Linked DNA regions of Homo sapiens: region 2 is linked to region 1. Evidence: promoter capture Hi-C in 16 types of primary human blood cells and fetal thymus (Javierre and others, 2016). All regions are on one chromosome and are shown on one strand. Each heading gives the region's core, a stretch centred on a gene start or on the middle of the fragment in contact. The rest is flanking DNA. Distances are from core to core; before and after follow the strand shown.

What was found. Contacts are between HindIII fragments. The CHiCAGO score rates a contact against its expected background, and 5 or more counts as called.
Region 2: a fragment that was not itself captured here is called in contact with the fragment with the promoter of LINC00479 in region 1 in 1 of 17 cell types (M2 macrophages); the score reaches 5.2 in M2 macrophages.

What each region holds. Positions count from the first base shown.
Region 1 is chr21:41,712,427-41,717,832 of GRCh38, reverse strand. LINC00479 (long intergenic non-protein coding RNA 479) reads left to right here and starts at 2,058. Exons shown (of 6, transcript NR_027272.1): 1 at 2,058-2,091; 2 at 2,550-2,713; 3 at 3,481-3,599; 4 at 3,701-3,813; 5 at 4,161-4,282; 6 at 4,833-5,406. LINC00112 (long intergenic non-protein coding RNA 112) reads right to left here and starts at 1,397. Exons shown (of 3, transcript NR_024028.2): 1 at 1,289-1,397; 2 at 659-832; 3 at 251-491. The HindIII fragment of the contact is 7,368 bases long and covers 246-5,406 here.
Region 2 is chr21:41,673,359-41,678,764 of GRCh38, reverse strand. No RefSeq gene overlaps it. Among named protein-coding and RNA genes, the nearest start is that of LINC00111, 3.2 kb to the left of the region's middle. The HindIII fragment of the contact is 3,754 bases long and covers 175-3,928 here.

The DNA.
Region 1 (5,406 bases), core at 809-3,308:
AGCCTGGGCTGAGGGGCCCAATGCTGGTGACTCACCTGCCCTCCCTCCCCTTTTCTCTCTGCCAAGCAGGAGCCACCTTTCTTCATGGCGGCCCTGCAGGCCCCAGGCTTGGTGTTGCGGGAAGAGCCTTTCATGAACAGGTCCATGTCGCTCTTTTCTCTCCAGCCCATGACAGAAGTGGAACACGGCCTGCACGGGTGGCACCAAGGCGGCATCATCAGGCTCTTCCCAATGTGAAGGAAGCTTTGACTCCATGGTGAACCCTTTATTGGGGGCTGACTCCAGGCCCGGCTATGGTTGTATTTTACAGAACTTGCTGGAGACACCTGTCTTGCTGGGCTGATGGATTCAGAACCAATGATGGGAACGGGGTCAGGTCCTCCGTCCAGTGAGTGAGGAGGGATTCCAGATGAGCCTCTGGACCCTCTTCCTATGCGCAGATGGCTTGTATCCTGAAGATGGAAACAGCCTGCTTCTTCACCGTCGAGACCCTGATGGAGGAAGGTGCTCCCCAGTGAGGCCGAGGGCCCCCTTTTCAGACATACAGTGGCACCTTGTTCCTCTGGGCTGGGTCTTTGCGGTAGGCCAGTGTTGTTGTCGTGGGCACCTAAGTTGTGGGCACTGGAGGGATGGAGGCCTTTAGGCTGCACCAAGTTACCTGCCTCGGCTTCTGGTTCCTCAACTATAAAACCAGATGGTCAGAGTAGGGAGCCTCGAGGGTCCCGTCCAGGTCTACAGGTGGATAACCTGTGCGCAGAGGCCACACTGTGAGAGAAGACCTGGTGGAGGATGTTTCCCGTGTCACAGCTGCAAGTAGGAAGAGTGTGAATCCCTGTGAATCGGCAGAGAAGAGCAAGGGGAGGGTTCAGGTGTAGGTGGGGGCGGGAGGGAGGATTAGGGGGAGGTGGTGTCAGTTTCCCAAGGCTGCTGTAATGAATATCCACAGACTTGGAGGCTTAAACAACACACACTGTCTTATGGTTCTCAAAATCAGAATGCTGAAATGGGTCTTGCGGGGTAAAATCTGTGAACAGTCATTTCTTCCCTCTCCAGGCCCTGATGGGGGAAGGGGCTCCTGGGCCAGTGTCAGCAGGGCCGGGTTCTTCTGGAGGCTCAGGGGAGAAGCTGCCTTCCTGTCTTTTCAGCTTCCAGAGGCCGCCTGCACGCCTCAGGGTCCCCGCAGCAGACCACATCACTCCAACCTTCGCTTCATCCTTGCATCTCCTCCTCCGCCTCCCTTCCTCCCTCTCATAAGGACCCTAGGATGACACTGGACCCCCCGACTGACCCAGGAGAATCTCCGCAACATGTGGGGAGGTGGAGTGATTGTGCAAAGCAGAGTGAGGTGGTGTTGCTGGAAGACTCGAATCACATCTGCAGGATCTCTGCGGAAGCTCTGGGGATAAGATTTGGCATCTTTGCAGTGGCCGTTATTCTGCCCACCGCAGGGGCCCCCATCTGATGATAGAGAAAAGGCACATAGAAGATGCTCGGAAACACGTGTTGAGTGAAAGAGTGAGTGGCTGTGTGGAGCCGAGACTAGGTTGGTCTGTGCAGGAGGTGTAACAAGAGCTGCATCTTGTATTTCTGCCTGCCTTCCTGCCTCTGCCATTGACTGGAGGTCAGCAGGTCTGACAGTTCCAGAAATAGAACTTCTGCTCTGATCTGATCCACACGAAGGTGAAGGTCAGGTGCAGGATCCTCCGCCCCCACCTTGTGGTTTCTGGGGGTGCTGAGCCAGGGCCCCACCTCTGCCCTGGGGGACACCCCCTGCCAAGTTTGCTTGGAGGCTCCTTTGAGCTCAGGCACGCCCAAGAGCCAGAAGGAGAGGACTTGTAAAGACAGGGACTGTAACCCCAGGCAGGCCTGTGTCCTGGCCCTTAGGGAAGGAATAATGAGTAGACTATTGTGTAAGAAAGATGAGAATCAGGCAGATAAAGGGCCCAGTGAAGCTGCCTGCCCCACTCCCTACCCCCAGGACTGAACCTTGGACCCCACCTAACATTCCAGCTCCACTGCGGTGCCCTGGTCTCCATGACAACCGGGAATCATTTTACAAATAGAAGATTGTGGATCCCTGGGAACGCAGAGGTGAGGAAGTCTCAGGAGTAAAGGTTTCATTTACGGCACCTTGGTGCGAAGGTGTCAGGCCAGGCCTTGGAGCCAAATTCTATGCAGAATGACCAAGTGCCGAGAGCAGAAAACACGGGCTATGTTCCTGACCCTTTGCCTGTTAGCCGTGTGGCTCTGGTTCTGGAGTGAAGGGAGCAGCAGGATGCTCTGGGCCTTAAGTGACAGAATTCCTAACTCTCTGAGACCAGAGCAAGGCTTTGGAAAGGCTGGAGGGAAGCCATTAAGTCGGTGAGGTTTTCCTGGCTTGCCCCATGGAGGCAAGATGGCTGCAGGGACTCCAGGCATCACGTCCATTGAGGACAACATCCAATGCACAAAGGAGGGCAGGTGGCAAAGGGGCTTCTCCTCTCACAGCTCTTTATCACAAACTGCTGCCTCCTCCAGCATCCCTCAAAGACCGCTTTGTTTCCCATCAGCAGGAATGCGTGGCAGGAAGGAATCTCCCAGGGATTCACAGTTCACCCCTAAATCAATCCGTGGGGCCCGAGGGGCAAAGTATCTGAGTGACCCAGCCCTCAGTCTTGTGTCCGTTCCTGAGAAGGAGCTCAGCCTTGCCCCTCAGGAGCTGCATGTACCAAATGTGAGTGTGTGTGTGCCTGAGTGTGCCTCTTCACCTCAGTGAGTGTGTCCATGTGTGAAAGCAGATGTTTGTATGTGCACAGGTGTGTGCTGTGTGCATACAAAGCGGGGGCAGGGCATGTGGGGATGTTGTACCTGAGCGAGTTAGAAAAACGCCACACTTTGAGATGAATTAGGAGTCCTCTATTAGCTGGCAACCAAGAGACAGCTAACGCTCAAAATTCTCTTGGCCCCGAGGAAGGGGCTTGATTAACTTTTACATCTTGGTTTAGGAAGGGGAGGGGGGTCTAGTTAGAACAATTTTACAGAAGTTAAGTAGTCAAAAAGTTAAAAGGACAAATGGTTACAGGAAAGTAAACAGTTCCAGGTGCAGGGGCTTTAAGACTATTACAAGGTGATAGACGCGGGGCTTCGGGCGTTATCATTCGGACAAATTCCTGGGAACTGCGGATCTAGCTCGCCACAGTATCTTATCAGTTAACTGCATTCTTGGATGTGCTGGGAGTCAGCTTGCACAAGTTAAGTCCTTGAGGAAGGGGCTGCCGGTGAAAGAGCCAAGATGGAGTTTGTGTGACTCTCTCAGCTAAGGGAGAAGCAAGGCTAGGTGAATAAAGGAAAAACAAGGTTGGGCATTACACGGAGGTGGAGTGATTGTGTAAAGCAGAGTGAGGTGGTGTTGCTGGAAGACATGGATGGAGGCATGACACAGACTGTCCACTGCAAAAACCATGGACGGAGGAGGCGTCACACAGACTGTCCACTGCAAAGACCACAGATGGAGGCGTGACACAGACTGTCCACTGCAGAGACCATGGACGGAGGCAGCCTCCGAGCCAGCCCAGCAGCCATGGACGGAGGAGCCTTGGAGCCAGCCCAGCAGCTCTCCTGTGAGTGGGGCCGGCACTGTCCCCAGCATTTGTGCCACCGGTGCTGTAGAAGGGCGGGGAGACAGCACATGGGGACTTGCCATTCCCGTTCTGTTCCGCAGCACTGGAGGGGTGGACGGGACAGGACCGGCTGCTCATTCCACGCTGGAGGGAGGCCAGGAGTCTCAGCTGGATGCAGTCACCTGACCTGGAGAGTTCAAAGTGCCTAACACAGGTGCTCACCCCTCTTCCCCCTCACCCCTGTCTGGACCTGGGACATGGAGCCTTCCTCTAAGTCTGGTCTCCCCGCTCCTCCAGGAAGGTCCTGGAGGGGATGGCCTGGGATGGGCTAGGACCCGGTTCCCACCTCAGGAGGCCTCTGGCCATGGAAGTGCTAAGGTGCCTAGTATCCGTCTGTCCGGGTGACTCTGGCTTGGGGGTTGGGTGGCCTTGCCTGCGTCCAGCGACATGGGGAGGTGTGTGTGGAAAACCAGATGCCACCTCACTCACATGGCGCGGGGCGGTGGCTGGGGGTTGGAGGTGATGGCTACTGGTTCCTCCCCCACTGGGGACCATTTCCAGGGATGCTGCTACCCACAAGCCTGGATCCTGGCGTGCTCCGCGGCTCTCCTTCAAGCCCTGGCCTCATCAGACCTCCAAGGCTCCCTAGACAGGGTTAATTATTCACGTGGCCTGGGACCCAGGTACAAAGTCTTCTCCTTCCCACATCTGCAGAAGCTGCTCTTGTGGATGGGGCTCCAAGGAGGAGAGGGCAATTGTTTTATTTTAATCATTAAAACATTTTCTGGGATATACGTGTTGGTTGAAAACAATTAGAAGGTATAGAAAAGTATAAACAAAAAATTAAAGACAAGCCAGGTGCTGTGGCTCACGCCTATAATCCTAGCACTTTGGGTGCCCAAAGCAGGCAGATCTCCTGAGGTCAGGAGTTCAAGACCAGCCTGGCCAACATGGCAAAACACCATCTCTACCAAAAACACAAAAATTAGCTGGGCATGATGGCGAATGTCTGTAATCCCAGTTGCTTGGGAGGCTGAGGCAGGGGAATCGCTTGAACCCGGGTGGCAGAGGTTGCAGTGAGCTAAGATCATGCCACTGCATTCCAGCCTGGGCAACAGAGTGAGACTCAGTCTAAAAAAAAAAAAAAAAATTAAAGACAAAAAATTGAAAACCACCTGTAAGCCCATCATTCAGAGACAGGCACTACTAACAACTCATGGTGTTTCCTTCCAGGGTTCGTTTGTTTGTTTTTCCCGACACAGTAGGGTCCACGAGGAAGTCAGGATCCACCGGCAATATTTGCAGTGTTATGTTGAATGTGGCAACTGGCTGCGTGAGGATAGAGAAGTAAACAGCATGTCCGGTGGCAGTCGGTTACCACACAGAATTTAGGAGGCCCAGTGAAATGCAAATGCTAGGTAAGTGACACGTAAGTTTTTGATATAAGCATATCCCAGGCAACATTTATTTATTGGAAATTGAAACTCACATTTAACCGGCCATATTATTTTTTTTAAATTTTTTTGTTCTCTAAATCTATCTTTTGTTTGCCGAATTTCTAGCAACCTTAGATGGAGAGGTGGCTCTGAGATTAGCATCCCCACAGGCCCACCTCTGGCTGGAGAGACAAAGGGAGGTGGGGTGCTGCCGGGGAGGGAGAGCCAAGGTCTACTTCCACGCCGCTCCCAGACCTGGGGCCAGAGGCCCGCTTGCTGGGGGCTGGGGCTCAGAGGGGAGCGAGCGGCTGCTGTCAGGCTGTCTGAAAATGCTGTGCGGATTCCCCGATTTTCTCTCGCCTGGCAGGTCA
Region 2 (5,406 bases), core at 802-3,301, 39 kb after region 1:
TCAGTGCTCAGCTCCCAGTTACCGCAGTCACCCTAAGGCACCTGGAAAACGGAGGGAAGCAGGAACAGGTTTGCTTCTGGTGCCTCCGCCTGCCCTGGAGAAGTCCAGTCCTTCCTCTTCCCTGCAGAGGAAGCTTACAGTTTTATCTGAGTCCTTTTCGCTGTGTGCTAAGCTTCAGGGTTACAGACAGGCTGCTCCCTTTGGTGGCCTTTGTTGGAATGCCATCAGTGTGTACCTTAGGTTCATAAATAATTCAGACTGGCAGCTACCCAGGAAGGAAGCAAACGCCCAGAGCTCACAGCCGAGACAGGTTACAACAAGAATGCGGTGAGCAATGCTGCCGATGGAGAAGCAGGGAGGCAGGAATTCAGGGAACACTTGCCAGCTCCCAGATTTCCAGGTGGGCTCGGGACCACGCTTGTCTTGCAGAAGCTGCGTGCCTGGCCCCCAGCATGCTCAGGGTGGACATGGGTGGCTAACCCAGCACCCTCCCCAACCTTCTTCTCCCCTGCCTGCTTCCATCCAGAGGATGGAGAGCTAAACACTCACCATCCCACAGTCCCCTGCAGACAGAGGTGACTCAGAGATGGCCTTGACAAAAGATCCAAGAACTGCTGACATCCTGGCTCTGACAACGTGAACCTCAGAAGCCCCCAGCAGAGACATGGCTCTAGTCTTCTTGTGATGGGAGAAGGACAGTCCCTACGTGTTTAAGTCACGGTGGATGAGTTTATTCTGTGACTTGCAGTCCAGTGCCTCCTGATAGTGACAGAAATCGCCAAAGTTCTGACTTGCTTTTTCCGGCCTGCTTTTATTCTGCTCACTCTAACAGAGCCAAGCATTTGGCCAGTGTTCCAGTCTCTCCTGTGGCCCTGAACACCACCTCAACGGTTTCCTGTTTACTTTACCTCTTAGGCTGCTAGAATTAACCACTTGCCATTATGCCCCTGCGTCTCCCTACGGCCCCTCCCTCATGGTCTTGCCACCACACCGAGCTAATTTCTTTTGTATTTTTTGTAGAGATGGGGTTTCGCCCTTTTGCCCAGGCTGGTATTCTTGGGCTCAAGCCATCCTCCTGCCTCGGCCTCCCAAAGTGTTGGGATTCTAGACGTGAGCCATGGTACCCGGCCAGCAAAGATTTCTTAGAGACAACATCAAAAGTATTCGATGTTTAAAAACAAAAACTAAAACCATAAATTGGACTTTGTCAAAGTGAAGAGGTTCTTCTGCTTTTGAAAGACATTGATAAATGAATGAAAAGACAAACCACAGGAGAAAATACTTGCAAATCACCCATCTGATAAATGACTTGTAGCCATATAGATAAAGATTGCTTGAAACTCAACAGTAAGAAAACAAAGAACCTAATTTTTTAAAAAAAGAAGAGAATAGGCCAGGCACAGTGGCTCACACCTGTAATCCCAGCACTTTGAGGGGCTGAGGTGGGTGGATCACCTGAGGTCAGGAGTTTGAGACCAGCATGACTAACATGATGAACCCCTATCTCTACTAAAAATACAAAAATTAGCCGGGCATGGTGGCAGGTGCCTGTAATCCCAGCTACTCAGGAGACTGAGGCAGGAGAATCACTTGAACCCAGGAGGCAGAGGTTGCAGTGAGACAAGATCGCGCCATTGCACTCCAGCCTGGGTGACAGAGTGAGACTCCGTCTCAAAAAATAAAAATAAAAAAAAGAGAAAAGAATAGATACTTCACCCACCATATAGAAATGGTAAATAGCACATGAAAAGAGATTCAGCAGCATCAGTCATTAAGGAAACACAAATTAAGACTACAGTGGCTATTACTACAAGCAGCTTAGAATAACTGCAAGAAGAGCTCCCACACCAAGTGTTGGCGAGGATGTGTAGAGACCAGAACTCTCACACCCTGTGGTTAGGAATGTAAAATGGTACAACCGCTTTAGAAAACAGTCCCAGCTACTCGGGAGGCTGAGGCAGGAGAATGGCGTGAACCCGGGAGGCGGAGCCTGCAGTGAGCCGAGATGGCGCCACTGCACTCCAGCCCAGGCGAGAGTGCCAGACTCTGTCTCAAAAAAAAAAGAAAAAAAAGAAAGAAAAAAGAAAACTGACGGTTTCTTGACAATTAAACACACAGCTACCACATGACCCCATTGTTCTGCTCCGAGGTATTTATCCAAGAGAAAAGTCTGTGCCCAAGTGAAGACTTTTGCATAAATAAGCAAAAGTCATAGCAGCTTTATTTGTAATAGCTACAAATAGAAAAAACCCAAATGTCCATCAATGGGTGAGATGGATAAAGGAACTGCAGTATAACCACACAATGGAAGGAGGCATATGCTGACTATCTTGTTGTTGATGCTGAACATCTTGAGCACATGTTCAAGACTTGCACATGTGTCAACACATGTGAGTTGCACACTTTAAACATGTATAGTTTATTATATGGCAATTATACCTCAATTACGTTGTTTAAAAGATGCTTTCGATGCTTTCGAGATTATTAGTAATTGGGGTCAGGGCTCAGGGGAGGGTCAAAAGAAAACTTTTTAGAGTGATGAAAATGTTCTATTTCTTGATTGTGGTGATGGTTACACTACAGCTACCAATTGCTAAATTAAAATAGGTGGATTTTGTTGGATATAAATTATAACTCAATGAAGCTGAAGAAAAATAAATTTCCACTGAAATATCTTGGTATATAAGGACAAGGGGAAAATACTCTAGGGGTGTGTAATTTTTGTTTCTAGTAAAGTGAAAATTGTAATTGGAGAGAAAAAATTAAATGCTCTTTCAAAAAGTAAAAAATAACATATGTTTACATTAAAGCAAAAAACAAATGCCTTCTTTGTTGTATTGATTATCTGGATATTAAAAAGCAATTACAAGCATAATTATTATTATTTTTTTTTTTTGAGACATAGTCCAGCTCTGTCGCCCAGGCTAGAGTGCAGGGGCGTGATCTCAGCTCCCTGCAGCCTTGACTTCTCAGGCTCAAGCAATTCTGTCATCTCAGCCTCCCGAGTAGCTGGGACCACAGGCATGCACCACTATGCCCAGCTAATTTTTTCATTTTTATTTTTATAGAGATAGTGTCTCCCTATGTGGCCCAGGCTGGTCTCAAACTCCTGGGTTCAAGAGATCTCCCACCTTGGCCTCCTAAAGTCCTGGAATTACAGGCGTGAGCCATCGTGCCCGGCCTGAATAATTTTTCTTGATACCTATTCACATTCTTCAATCAGTTTTTAAGCCTTATTTGTTTCTATTGCCATTAGTGGCATTTTTCAGAAGAATGTGCTATTTTCAGAATTGCCTTATTTTAATCTTTCATAAAATTGCCTGGAATCCTCTCCAAGAAGACATTTTTGTGGCTAATGAATTTGAGTTTGCCGACCAGCTAAGTGGAATCTTCTCTGTAGACCCTGAGGTTGTCAGATGAATGAGCAGCTGTAGAGGTAAGATCTGAGCTGACTCTGCTCAGGGGAAGACAGTCTCAGTATTTTCTAATGAAAAGGTCAATATTTCACCCAGATATTGTCACAGGTCCTGTGTTCTGAGTTCAATCCAAAGTCTTTCATAAATGTCTTTATAGGGCAAAATGAGTCAAATAGGCTTTTTTCATGTATAATTCCTTTGAATGTTTTATCAAATTTATGTGCTAAAAATCACAGGCCTTTTCAATTTCATTCCATTCTCATATATAATAAACATACATACTATTAAAATATGAGCTCTAGCAAAAATCTGTTTCATAAATTGAGATGCTCCAAGAAGCAATTTTAGAATTCCAAAGTTATTCTCATACACTATTTGGGTAGACATTATGCGTTTTATTCAGTTTCTCTCTTTCTTTTGTGGTAAGAAATTTAAATAGTCTTTCTGTTTGCAAACTTGCTTTTAATAATTGCTAATAATTAAAACAATAATAATTGTTTTTAATAAAAGCTTTACATTTATTTAATGATTTGAATAAAAATTAAGTCATTATTCAAATTAACTGAATGAGCTTTTCTGTTGGAAGCATCTGATAATACACATATTACATCCATATCACTTAACTGTCTTGTGAAATTGGGCTCATGGAGGTAACACAATAACAGCTATCACGTCATCGAGTAAATTCATAAGAAAACTCAAAGTTGACAAAGAAGGAAATTAATGAGCACTGACATTTGATCTACAAGAAAAGTCCCCGAGTGACACGGCTGCAGGCGTCAGTCACTGTCTTTGGCTGCCTGAAAAGAGTTACCAGCTTTTGAGGTTGATGCTGCTGTTTCTTCTGCTTTTCATGTGCTTGGTGATGTCACTGCATTTACCGCAAATGGTAAATGTTCACAAACATTTTGTGTAAGTAGACATCATAATCAACTTTCTGGAGGAACAGAAATCCAATAAGTTAACTTCTTATTTCACATGCACTTTCATTTTATTTTTTAGCTCACCGTGGCCCAAAGGTCTTATTACGAATATAAAAATGCATTGCTAAATGCTGAGAGAATTAGAGCCACACCATGAAATACAGAAGGACCCCGTTGCGGCAGCGTGGTCAGGCACCTCTCTACACGCACTCTGTTGGCACAGCTCAGTCTCCACATTCTGAACAAATCTCCCAGCGCCCAACTTGTCATTTCCAGCTGCTTCCCACTGACCTTGCCAACTAGTGCCCTCATAGCTTTCTACATCTTTCTGGCCTGGACTCAGGCCACAGCACAGCCGCTGGTTCACCCACTGGGCAGAAGAAGTGGCAGCGTCAAATGCTCCTCCCGCCAAACCCACCAAGACTAAAGGGGCTCCCCTGCTCCCAGCCACTGTGTCTGGGTGCCTTTGGTTTTTCCAGGGAGCTCCTCGTGTTGTCCTTGGAAGAGAAGCTTTAGTGATAGGAAAAGGAGGAACGGCTGATTGCTGGCCTTCTTTCAGAGGTAGCCAGTGTTCCAGTGGGGACTTGTGCCTCCTGTTCACTTTATCAGGCGAGACCATGGCAGAGGCAGACCTGCAGTGCAGGTGCCAGGGCAGCAGGGAGAGCTGCCCTTCTCACCAACTGTCACCCAACGATGCCACCTGCTGAGGCTCATTGCATCTCAATTATTTTGCAAAATGGGGTTTTCTAATTCTGTAATTTCTTCCATATTGATCAGCTTGAATTCCCTGTAGGAAGAACTGACCTACAGCAACTTGGGCTATGTTTTAACCCTGCAAGAGACTGTCTATGGAAGAACAGAAGACGGTTTCATGACTTCCTTCCATTGCTGATTTTTAGCATGAGAAGTGGTGTCCTCATCATGTCTGTGGTGCCCAGTGAGCTGGGCATTTGGCAGGTGTAGGCTCTGGACTCGAGGACTCCTGTGTCCAGTATCTCTGTCAGCCACACCCATTTTGTTTGAGGCTGTTTTGTCCCGTCTATGGCCATGAACCGCCGGCCCTGCTG